Regions from separate parts of the Homo sapiens genome. Here region 2 is linked to region 1. Evidence: promoter capture Hi-C in 16 types of primary human blood cells and fetal thymus (Javierre and others, 2016). All regions are on one chromosome and are shown on one strand. The core of a region is centred on a gene start or on the middle of the fragment in contact, and the rest is flanking DNA. Distances in the headings are between cores, read along the strand shown. Region 1 holds the start of RNF175 (ring finger protein 175). Region 2 has its middle 43 kb from the start of TRIM2.

Region 1 (5,948 bases), core at 1,973-4,472:
CCGCAAGTTTCTGTTGTACAGAAATTTTTCATTTTAATACAGGCAAACTTTTTTCTTTGCCATTTGTTCTTTGTGAGTCTTGTTTAATATATCTTTTCTTATCTTGAGACCATAAAAACATTCTTTTAGATAAACTATTGCTTTCTAACCACCAGTTTTGTGCTGGTATGGTATAATTTTTTTTTCTTATGGATAAACCAGTTACTAAATAATCTATTTTTTTCTGCTGATTTGCTACTCCTCTCATGAAACTAGTTTTCCATAAATGTATGTGCCCATTCTGTTCCTTGAGTCTGTTGATTCCTGCACCAAATATGACAATCAACTGACTAGTGATTCTTGACCCCACCTTGTTTCTCAAACACATTTACCACATTAGCTAATTTCTTCCATTACATCATTACAACCACCTCAGGACTCTACATTGCGGGACATGAAGAAGGATGCACAGACTACAGATAAAATGCTGAAGAGATTAGTGTTAAGCAGCAGAATACAGTTCATCTATTCCAGGACAGAAGACAGAGTCAGCCGCCAACCATTTGATTTGGAAAACAAAATTTCAAATTAATTAACCTTGTTTCAGTGAACTACTCCAGAGAGCATTGCCTAACTGACTGGGAAATTAAATATTCATTCTGAATATCTGCAATTTGATCATAGAAGAAACCAGGTATAAGAGGAGGATAGATTAGAGCAAAGCCATCGTTACTGATGGGGAAGAAATGCACTTTTTGAGTTTTATTCTGATATGATTGCTGAGCTGAAGCCAGAAGGAAGATGATACCTTTGTGCATACATGGGTCTCCAGTGAAGTATGTGGGTCTTTTTGGTGCCAATCAATCAGGAGAGAGAGTTTCAAATCTGGGACCTGAGACTTATATAACAATAACAGGTCAGAATTTTATAGAAAGGGAACATCTATCTCCATATGGACTATTTTCATTTTATTATTTTGCTGCCTTGGGAGAATCTAGATGAATGTGAGGATATCCTGGGCTGGAGAGAAAAAATGGCTCTTGCCACATGAAGGCAGGCCACAAGATAGGTAGAGAAGTAACATGTCCAAATGAACCCACTATTTTTGTGTCCCCAAATCTGCTGCTCTTTCAATGTTCCCATTCTCAGCAATGGCAGCACTGTCTGCCCAAATGCTAGACTGCCCAAGCCACATGCCTGGGCACCATCCTTGGAGATGAGTCAAGTACAGTAGATTCTATTACCTAGATCTCCCATCCCCAAACACATCTCTCCATCTCCCCTCCACTCTGTCCCCGCACACACTCTCACCACCAAGGCCACTGTCATCCTTAGAGCTGAAACTACAGCAATAGCTTTCTGGCTGGTCTCTCTGTCTTGAGTCATAGTCATAGCCCTCTTCCCCACTCTTGAAGCCAAAAGGCAAGTCTGGTAATGTCATTTTCTTGCTTAAAACTCGGTAATGGCTTCTCATTCTCCTGAGGCTACAGTCCAAACTGTTTAATATGATTTATGTGGATCTGGCCCTTGCTGACCTTCGCAGCTACTTCCTTGAGAGATTAAGAACCCAGACCATGAAGTCAGTTTTGTCTGGGTTCAAATTCCCACTGCCCCACCTATTAGCTTCAAAACTTGAACAAACTTCTGGACCTCTCTGTGCTTCAGTGTTCTCCCGTGTAAAACACGGACGGTCACAATGCCCACCTCACAGGATTGTCAGGAAGACTGAATGAGCTAACACAGGTAGAGTGCTCAGGACGGCACCTGGCACACGGTAAGCATTCTATCAATGTTAACCATGATTTTTATTTCTCCAATTCATTATGCCTTCTCCAGCATTCCGGCCCTTGCATCCACTGTTCTCTCCATCTCAGACACTCTTTCCAACACACTCTGATCATGCTACAAGGTAGTCTTCAGATGTAGGTAACAGCCCCAGCGGCACCTGAAAACTTGTTCAAAAGACAAATGCTCAGGCTCCACCCTAGACCTACTATATTAAAAACTCTAGGGCTCAACTCCAGCAATCTGAAGATTTTTGTTTTGTTTTTTGATAGAGTCTCGCTCTGTTGTCCAGGCAGAAGTGCAGTGGTTCCATCACGGCTTACTGCAGCCTGAACCTCCCGGGCTCCGGCGATCCTCCAGCCTCAACCTCCTGAGTAGCTGGGGCTACAGGTGTACCACGCCCAGCTCACTTTTGTATATTTTATAGAGATGGGGCTTCACCATGTTGCCTAGGCTGGTCTCAAACTCCTAGGTTCAAGCAATCCGCCCGCCCTGTCCTCCCAAAGTGCTGGGATTAAAGGCATCAGCCACTGTGCTTGGCCAGCACTCTGAGTTTTAACAAACTCAGCATTCCTCCATAGGATTCTGATGCCCAGTTAAGGCTGGAAAACCAAGGCACCATCCGTGATAAATTGTACTTAGATGCTTATTTTTCTCTATCCCCTGTTAGGCTCTACGTTCCACAATGGCAGAGAAATGTCCATCTTGGTCTGTTCACCTCCTTTGTAGGTGTTGACAAATACGAGCCATCACAAACTGGAAAGGGGTAAGCTGTATTTCGTAGGACACATCATCTAATTCTGTGCTCCTCTTTTCTGTTTCCCCAAATCAACACCCAGGTATTTCTAAAGGCTTGCCTAAACGTTCCAGCTTGTTCTCAACCTTGAAGCCAGGCTTAGGCCTAAGTTGTAAAGGCGGGAGGGGAGACCCTGGAGGTAGAGGGGCAAAGGCAAGATGCTTGCGTCGCAGGGGCCCTGCATGGCCTGGAGCAGCATAGGGGCCAAGATGGTCTGCGCTCTCCCTAGATTGGAGTTTCTCTCCTTCATCATCTTTGGAGGAAGCACAGATAACTGAGGAAAGTCTGTATCTGCACAGCCACCCGAACTCCTGCCTCCTAATAAACACCTCTGAGGGAGAGGAAACTCTCTCTCTCTCTTCTCTTCCTCCCCAGCACCCCTCGCCCCCCCACCGCCATTTCTCACTCCTCTACTCCCCTCTCTCTCCCTACCCACCTCTGACCCCTCCTCCAGTCCTGCCGCCCGGTAACAAAACCGGGGTTCCCGCCACACGCACCCGGTAGGGCTCAAGACGCTTTATCGGCGACAATGGCTGGCTGAATGGGAGGCCTGAGGTTCTGAAGGAACCGGGGTGCTGGCGACCGGGACCTCGAGGCCGCTGCTGGGGAGGACGCTGGCCAGCGTGCAGGGGGCGGAGGCGGGGCGTGCCGGGAGGCTCCCATCTCCCGCCCCGCACAACCCGGGCAGGGCCGCCGCTCCGCCGCCGCCGCAGATCCGGCTCTCACCCTCGGCTCCCGAGGCCCCGCGGCGCCTCCTTCTGCGGACTCTGCGGGACCCTCCCCGGCAGGCGCTGTGCCCTGGAGAAGGCACAGTGGCTCAGGCATGGCCGCGGGGACGGCGGCGCGGAAGGCAGCGCCGGTGCTGGAGGCCCCCCCGCAGCAGGAGCAGGTACTGGCGCGGGGGCGCGGGCGTGGGGGACGCCAGGCCGGGGTCCCGGGGCTCACGCTGGTGCCGGGCAGGCTGCACAGACTGGTCTCCAAGACCCCGGGCCCCACCGGGGAGAACCGGCCCTGGAAAGACGTGGGGACGGACGCATGACCTTCTGGAAGATGCCACCGTGCGGGGTGCCAGTCCCTCCTCCACTCCCTCCCTCCCCACTTCTGTGCCCTCCCCGCTACCTTCCTTTCCTCCTTCTGATCCTCTTCCTTCGCTCCATCCCTCTTCTCGCATCCTCGCACTTTCTCTTCCAGGCTCACCCCTTCCACTCCCGCCCTCCTTTGTGACCGCCTGTGCCCTCCTCCCTCCTCGGCGGAAGCCCCCAGAGCCCAGGGTCAAGGTCGTAAGCTGCGAGAGAGGGGAAGGGGTGTACTGCAGGCTTTTGGCTAGACCGCCCTGGTTCTCAAACTCGAGTGTCATCAGAATCACTCGGAGGGCCTGTTACCACGCAGACTGCTGGTCTGTGCCCAGGGTTTCTGATTCAAGATGTGTACCCTGATCGTCAGCTTGTCTTGCCTGGTGCTCAACCTAGCCCATTTCTGCTTCTGCTGGCGTCAATTGCAAACCCAATCTTAATTTATTCTTCGTTCATAGGACAATTCTTCTTAGGCTACATCCAGGTACCAGGAGGATTTGGGGGTGGAGGAGGGTAGGTCTTACCTGGAGGAACCCAAATCCCATCCGTAAAACGAGGACAAAAATAACTCTTAAGGGCAAAGATAACTCTTAAACAACAACAAAAATCACTCACAGAGCGGGTAGGAAGAGATTAATGTCCCAAAATAGGTTCAGGCAAAGAACTGTAGGATTTCTGAGAAGGGCTTGCTCCTGACTAACCCCCTTCTCCTCCAACCCGTGAGGGCGTGGCATTCGAGCTGGGTGTTGGGGAATGGACAGGATCTGACCTCATGGGCCAGAGAATTCTAGATGGAGGGAACAACAGTACCAAATGGCTTGGAGATTTTTTTTTTTTTAATATTGGGATGGATGGCCATGGGACAAGGCAGAGAGAGGGGACTGTCCACTCTGACTGCCAGAAACCTAGGGGTCAGGAATGCTTATAGCAAAAAATAAGGGTGGGCTAGGCTGTGGAGGGGCTTGTGTACCACAAAATGGGGAAACTTAAAATGAAACTCCATGACTTTCTTGCTGGTTTCAAACCCAGATTATCGAAAGGGAGGTTCTGAATTGATGAATGCATGCCAGGAGTGTCAGAGGATCTAGTACTGGTGGATTTGCTGCTGATCTTTGCTCTTCCTTAAGGCTGGCATCACTGCCTAGTCTGCTGCCCTCAGGAGGTATGGCCTCTCTGTTGAGGCTGCCCTAGGAGGGACTCACAGCTTTTCCCTTAATCCCATATGGCAAGACAGTGTGGTCCAGGAACCAGCAGCCAAGGCATTACCTGGGAGCCTGTTAAAAATGCAGTCTCAGTTCCCACGCCAGACCCACTGAATTGAAATCCGCATTTTAACCAGATCCCAGGGTGATTCATTTGCACATCAAAGTTCAAGAAGTGCTGGTTTCTTGACTTTACTAGAGCTAGGGATAAGAAAGTGAAAACAGAGATAGTTACTGACCAGCCTATTATCTGATAGCTTCCCTTTGGTTTGAACCTCACCCTATTTTATTTTCCTTCATCACCCTTATCACTACCTGAAGTATGTCTATGTGTGTATTTGATTGTCTAAGAACCTCCTTCAGCATGAAAGCTCCAGCAGAAAAGCCATGTGGTCTGCCTTGCTCGCTCCTGTATTTCCAGGACCTAGAACAGTCTCAGCAAACGGCAGGGCCTCAATAAATATTTATTGAATGAATAAATGAACAGTAACGTACAATCTTATGATGTAAGACCCTAACTCCAGCATACCTTACTGGACAAACACCATCTCCCTATTCCCCATCCTCCACCTCCCCAGCTACAACCCCTGGGGTCTTTTGAGCCTGCAACTGGTTAGGTATGTTTGAAACTCCTAAAATTTGGAGTGTGAGAGCAGAGACCATGGGTTTAGGAGTTCCCTCTTCTGCTTGTCTAAGGCTTGCTTTCCAGGCTCGGATTTCTCCTGAGAGCTGAGAGGACCCACCACTTCCCCAAAACTGCTCTCTGCCTGGGGGCAGGCCATACACAGCCCCTCCTCTCCACCCACAGGCATGCAGCCTTGCCTTGTGACATGAATTCCTTACCAATGAATACAGCCCTCTAAACCTAACATTCCTACCTGGCACTCACATGTGGTCCAGGGTCATCACTAGTTTCTGAGTTCATTGTTCTGGCTTTGCTACTTGGTTTAGAAAGATTTTTCTAACAGGTGGGTTTTGTGAGGGAAGAGTTGAAAGTGACAAAATCAGTTTGGAGGCAGCAGTTCAGGTGAGAGATAATGAAAGCCAATCGGGGTGGCAGTCTCCAAACACATTGAGTGTGCCATGCACCAGACATGAGGATTCAGTGGGGGG
Region 2 (5,948 bases), core at 1,240-3,739, 600 kb after region 1:
CAAAACAAAACAAAACAATAAGTACATGTGTTTATATAAGTAAAAAGTTATTAAAACAAAGTTAGAATATGAGAACTGCTTCTTTTCGGGGAGAAGTTAGCTTAATTGTACAGATAAACTAAATTAGATAAACAAAAACTTGCCACAGTAAGAAATCTGTGCAGTCCCAAGCCAAGTGAGCAAAATGCTAATATCATTAATAACAGTTTTTTTGTTTTCCCACAACATTGTCTTAAAAGGTACAGTCTAAAATGGATTTGTATGTGAATAACAAAAATACAGCTTAAATCACAAAGCAGGGATATGTTTCCTAGGCTTCTTTAGTTTGCAGCACGTTTTAAGATGTAAATCGGCTGAGCACGGTGGCTCATTCCTGTAATCCCAACAGTCTGGGAGGCCGAGGCGGGCAGATCACCTGAGGTCAGGAGTTCGAGACCAGCCTGGCCAACCTGGTGAAACCCTGTCTCTACTAAACACACAAAAATTAGCCAGGCATGGTGGCACTCGCCTGTAATCCCAGCTACTCCGGAGGCTGAGGCAGGAAAATTGCTTAAACCTGGGAAGCGGAGGTTGCAGTGAGCTGAGATCATGCCATTGCACTCCAGCCTAGGTGACAGAACAAGACTCTGCCTCAAAAAAAAAAAAAAAAAAAAAAAAGATGTAAATCTAGGTTGGGTGCAGTGGTTCATGCCTATAATTCCAGCACTTTGGGAGGCTGAGGCAGGAAGATAGCTTGAGGCCAGGAGTTTGAGACCAGCCTGGACAACATAGTGAGACCTCATCTCTACAAAACTAATAAATTAGCCAGGCATGGTGGCTCATGCCTGTAGTCCCAGATACTCAGGAGGCTGAGATGGGAGGATTGCCTGAGCCCAGGAGTTGGAGGCTGTAGTGGGCCAAGATTGCGCCCCTGCACTCCAGCCTGGGCAACAGAGCAAGACCCTGTCTCAAAGAAAAAAAAATGATGTAAATCTAGAAATGGATCCCATTATAATTTTAGAGAAGCAATAATCTACAAGTTTCAGATATTTACAGTAACCACTGAGTTGCATTAAATCAACTAAACAAAGCAGTCAAATGTGGCTACATACACTCAGGTAAAGGTTATTTTTTTCCCACAAATTCTTAGAAAAACTAGGGTCTTACATGATAGGATTCCACTTCCAAAAAATCTTACCTCTTAGAAAGACACCCTTTTCACCCTCAGTTCTGGAGAGCATGGTCCATGTCCCAACCTGTTTCTTTAATTCACATAATTCAGTGGTAACTGATCACTTGGACACAAGTGGCCACATGAGAATTCCCCTCAGGTGGCATCTTGGGTTCAAGCCCTATAGTCTGTTGGTGCTGCCTCACTGGAAAGAAGAGCTCTTCCTATTACTGAGGTGTGGTATAACTCAAGGCTACAACAGAGGCCAATGCCTGAAGTCCACTTGCTCTGCCACAGTTCAGAAACTACTGTTTCTTATTTACTCATTCACTCATTGTAATGGCTAATTTTATGTGTCTATGTGCCTGAGCCATGCAGTGCCCAGATATTTGGTCAAACATTATTCTGGGTATTTCTATGGGGGTCTTTTTGCCTGAGATTAGCGTTTTCATCAGTAAAGAAGATTGCCCTCCATAATGTGGGTGGATCTTATTTAACTAATGCAGGTGTCACTAGAACAAAAGGATGAATGCTTTCCTGTGTAAGAGAGAACTTTCCAGCAGATGGTCTGTGGACTTCAGCTGAAGCATCAGCTCTTTCTGACTGAAGGCCTTGGAATTGGAACTCTGGCTTTCCTTGGGTCTCTAGCATGCTGCCCCATCCTACAGATTGGACTTGTCTATCTCCATAATCATATGAGCCAATTCCTTATAATAAATCTCTGTATATATCAATATCCATATCATCTATATCTATATCATCTATATATCTATATGTATATATTTCCCACTGGTTCTGTTTTTCTGGAGAACCCTGATACACTCAATCCAAACAAGTATTTCTTGAAGATGTACTATATGCCAAGCAGTAAGCTAAATGACTAAATGCCAGAATAAAGAGTTAAAACTACAGTCCTTACCCTTGAAAGTTTAGAAATTTGGCAAGAATGCAGACAACAGAAAGCTTTTCCTTAAAGTAAGCTGGCCAAATTGGTCCCACGCAGAGAGAATGTACACACGAATTTCATTTCGGAGGTTTATGCTTAATCATAATCAGAGTCTGGCCATATTTGCTTAAGCACTCATTTTTTTCTAGTGGATGGAAGTTTCCAGTGAAATATTGCAACTTTATGTTCCCTAATAAGTTAGCTGCAGAGGACAATTGTACATTGATTTGCTCTTGATCCATGGAGCAATCCTTGCTAATGCTTTTGTGTGAGTCTTAGACATAATTGACCACCTTGGAATACTGCCCAATATTCAGTCATCTAGGAAATTTGTTGGACCTGCCTTGTAGCAGTTGGCCTGTGAGAACCAAAGGATACAAAGAAAACTAATAAGTGTACTAGCGTTGTCTGTGAGAGTTCTTTGAGCACGAAGCACTCACTAAGCAGGGAACTCCAAGGGGAGCAGAATATTCCCAAGGATTCTGCTGTGCATCATGTCATATGCAGAGTATATCAGGAAAAGCAACGGCTTTAAATTCAGACAGACATGACTCCAACTCCTGCACCTGCTTTTTAACAGCTAGCGACTTTGCAAATGTACTCAATCTCTCTAAGTCTCAGTTTTCTCATCTCTAAAACGAGGATAATAACTTTTCATAGGATAACTGTTAAGGCTGAATGGGATCATGCATGCACAGTGACAAGAATGATGCCTACCATATAGCACGTACGTTCAATTCATGGAGGTTCTTTCTAGCACAAAGCTTTTGTGTATATTTGATTCATCTCTGTGCTTGTAAAAGCAGTAGGGGCTGGTTATAAACATTTGCTTGCAAAGTGTTTCTGTATAAATACAGTCTCCATCTCAAAATTTAGTATTACGTTCTTAGAACAAACAAGCTATTTTAGTTTAAAGTACAACAAAATCTTTGTTCCTTAGAATACTAGAGAATGAGCAGTAAATGGGTGTCCAAAGAGGCTGGCCAATGAAGAGTTAATCACTTTGGCAAGATGAGCATGCCTAGTCTTCCTCTCCCTCCCAGGGAAACATAAAAATCAATTGAAAGAACAGAAATTGAAGTCATTATTGTTTGTGAGCCAGAGAGCTAGCTCCCAACCCTCCCCTCCCCTTTTTAAAAATGAAGCCTGGCCAGGCATGGTGGCTCACGCCTGTAACTGCAGCACTTCGGGAGGCTAAAGCAGGAGGCTCAGATCACTTCGGCCCAGGAGTTTGAGATCAGCCCCGGGCAACATACAGAGACCCTTGTCTCTATGAAAAAAATAAATTTTAAAAATTAGCCAGGTGTGGTGGTGCATGCCTATAGTCCCAGCTACTTGGGAGGCTGAAGTATAAGGATCGCTTGAGCCTGAGAGGTTGAGGCTGCAGTGAGCCATGATCACATTACTGTACTCCAGCTTGGGCAACAGGGTGGGAACCTTGTCTCCAAACAAACAAACAAACAAACATCCCTTGAAGCCTAGATGGCCAGCATGGTGGCTCATGCCTATAATCCCAGCACTTTGGGAGGCTGAAGTGGGAGGATGCCTTGAGGCCAGGAGTTCAAGATCAGCCTGGACAACACAGTGAGTCCCCATCTCTTTAAAATGAGGCCTGGAAAACTCTAAAAATCCCAGTAGTAGCTCACAAGACTTATTTGTTTCCTTTGGAGAAGCTAATGAGATTGGTGATTTTTGCTCGCCTGTCTCAAAAGCGCTTATTTCTAGAACCTTGAAGCTTTGTTGAATCTCCGATTCATCTTTGTGCTTGTAAAAGCAGTAGAAAAGTGTTAGATAACACAGCTTACTCTACTCAATTATAATGCTTAACAAAGACTAACTTAAGGGAATTAAGGAAAGGGGAGAGGGAAAGCAGGGGAAATTTTCAGAGAAATATTTCGCTTAGAAGGTCATAAAAAGATGGTTCAAAACTGCAGTGTAAAGATTGTAACTGACTCATATTCTAAAAATTGCACTAAACAGTTCAGGGAAGTTGTAAAATAGAGATATAACAATGGAAACATTACTCATCACCAAACCAAAAGCATAGCAAAGTTGTAACTCTTACTTAAAATAGCTAAAAATAATGGGTTGTGGGAAAATGTTCAAGAATAATATACTAATGGAAATAGACGATCCTACGTATTTGATAAATATTTTCAAGTACTGAATTTTTTCAAAGTTTATTTCTCGTGGCATCAAATAGTAGGCATAGCTTATTACATAATTAAACTCGGAGCTACTGTTAGCTCTTCAGAAAGGCTGGAGATAACACAATGCTGACCATAAACCACATGGTTTACTGACAAACCATCTTGGGAGACAGTCTTCTTACAGATTTAGAAAAGTATATTCAAATTTTCATGAATCTTTTCAAGTATTAAAGTTTGAGTTACAAGCACAAGAGAGAAGAAAAAAAATCTAAGCAGAGATTCAAATGGTCATATAAGAATTTTTAGGCTGGTGTGGCTCATGCCTGTAATCCTAGCACTTTGGGAGGCTGAAGCTGGAGGATCGCTTGAGCCCAGGAGTTCAAGACCAGCATGAACAATATGGCGAGACCCTGTCTCTTCAAAAAATAATTTAAAAAAATTAGCCGGGTGTGGTAGTGCACACTTGTGGTCCCAGCTACTTGGGAGGTTGACACGAGAGGATCACTTGAGTCCAGAACCAAGCAGCAGTGACCTATGTTCATGTCACTGCACTCCAGCCTCAACAACAGAGTAAGATACTGTCTCTACAAAAAAAAAAAAAAAAAAAAAAGATTTTGTAAAAACTCAATGAACTTCTAATGTAAAGTGGTATAAAAATGCTTTCACTTCCTAAAGCCACCATAGGGTGGCTTCGTATGGTCTTGAGAACAAGTTCAAAGTCCTCATTCTGATATTGAAGTAAGATACAGTTCCGTTTTATGTCTTTGTCCTGAAAAAAATACTCATCACAGACTAATCATCTGTATGCAATGAACAGTGCCGGACACTTTATATCAATTTTCTTTAATCCTTAGAACAACCTGCAATGGCTCAGTTGTTCATTTACAGATAAGAAAATTGAGACACTGCATCTTAAGCAAATTGCTCAAGGTCACACACCTTTGAAATACAAACCCCAACCACCGGTCTCCAAGAAGAAAGCCTGTCTTCTTTCTCCCCATATCAAATGAGTTGCCAAATCCATGCTCCTGCAGCCTTTTGAGCCACTGCTCAAGCTGTTTGCCTTTAGGTGAAAAGTATTTCCACCTTCTCGGCTTACCTTTCCAGTTCTAGATCACCGCTCAAAGCCCTAGAGCCAGCACTCATAACCTGATTGTGTCCAAGAATATCAGTTTCCCCTCTTCTAGCCTTGGTGTAGAACAGGCTATCCGCACCACTTGTCCCAGCATTTGATTAGCCAGTCTAGCACTCCACCTGACACTGTCTTTGTTTTATTTTTTATCTGTTTTTTTTTAATTGTGCAAATCTTTCTTCTAAACATGATGGCAAGAGCTAATGTTTTAAAATTGTCACATGCTTCCTTTGCTTTTTTTCATTCTCAGTAGGAACAAGAGTGATTATTTAACAGATTTAAAGTTTCCTGCATTTTTGTTGCCCATTACATATCACTATACCTTAGGAGGAGAATTTACTTTTTGATTTGCCACTATACAATGATCAAAATAATCTACTTTAAATAAAATTTCCAATGAAATTGTTTTTACAAACCAATTATAGTTCATAGGATTGCATAATTGAGCTTTCCTAATATTCTTACTAATTTCATATAATAAGAATTATTGATCAGGACAGGGATGAATTGAATAGTTGCATTTTAGCCAACAGTATGAAATTTCCCCTTCGTTGATTTTTCTGCTACCAC

Evidence for each region. Contacts are between HindIII fragments. The CHiCAGO score rates a contact against its expected background, and 5 or more counts as called.
Region 2: a fragment that was not itself captured here is called in contact with the fragment with the promoter of RNF175 in region 1 in 1 of 17 cell types (monocytes); the score reaches 5.2 in monocytes.

Annotation. Positions count from the first base shown.
Region 1 is chr4:153,757,298-153,763,245 of GRCh38, reverse strand. RNF175 (ring finger protein 175) reads left to right here and starts at 3,222. Exons shown (of 9, transcript NM_173662.4): 1 at 3,222-3,449. The coding sequence starts at 3,384. The HindIII fragment of the contact is 8,763 bases long and covers 1-5,948 here.
Region 2 is chr4:153,158,205-153,164,152 of GRCh38, reverse strand. It overlaps a transcript of TRIM2 not described here. Among named protein-coding and RNA genes, the nearest start is that of TRIM2, 43 kb to the left of the region's middle. The HindIII fragment of the contact is 747 bases long and covers 2,116-2,862 here.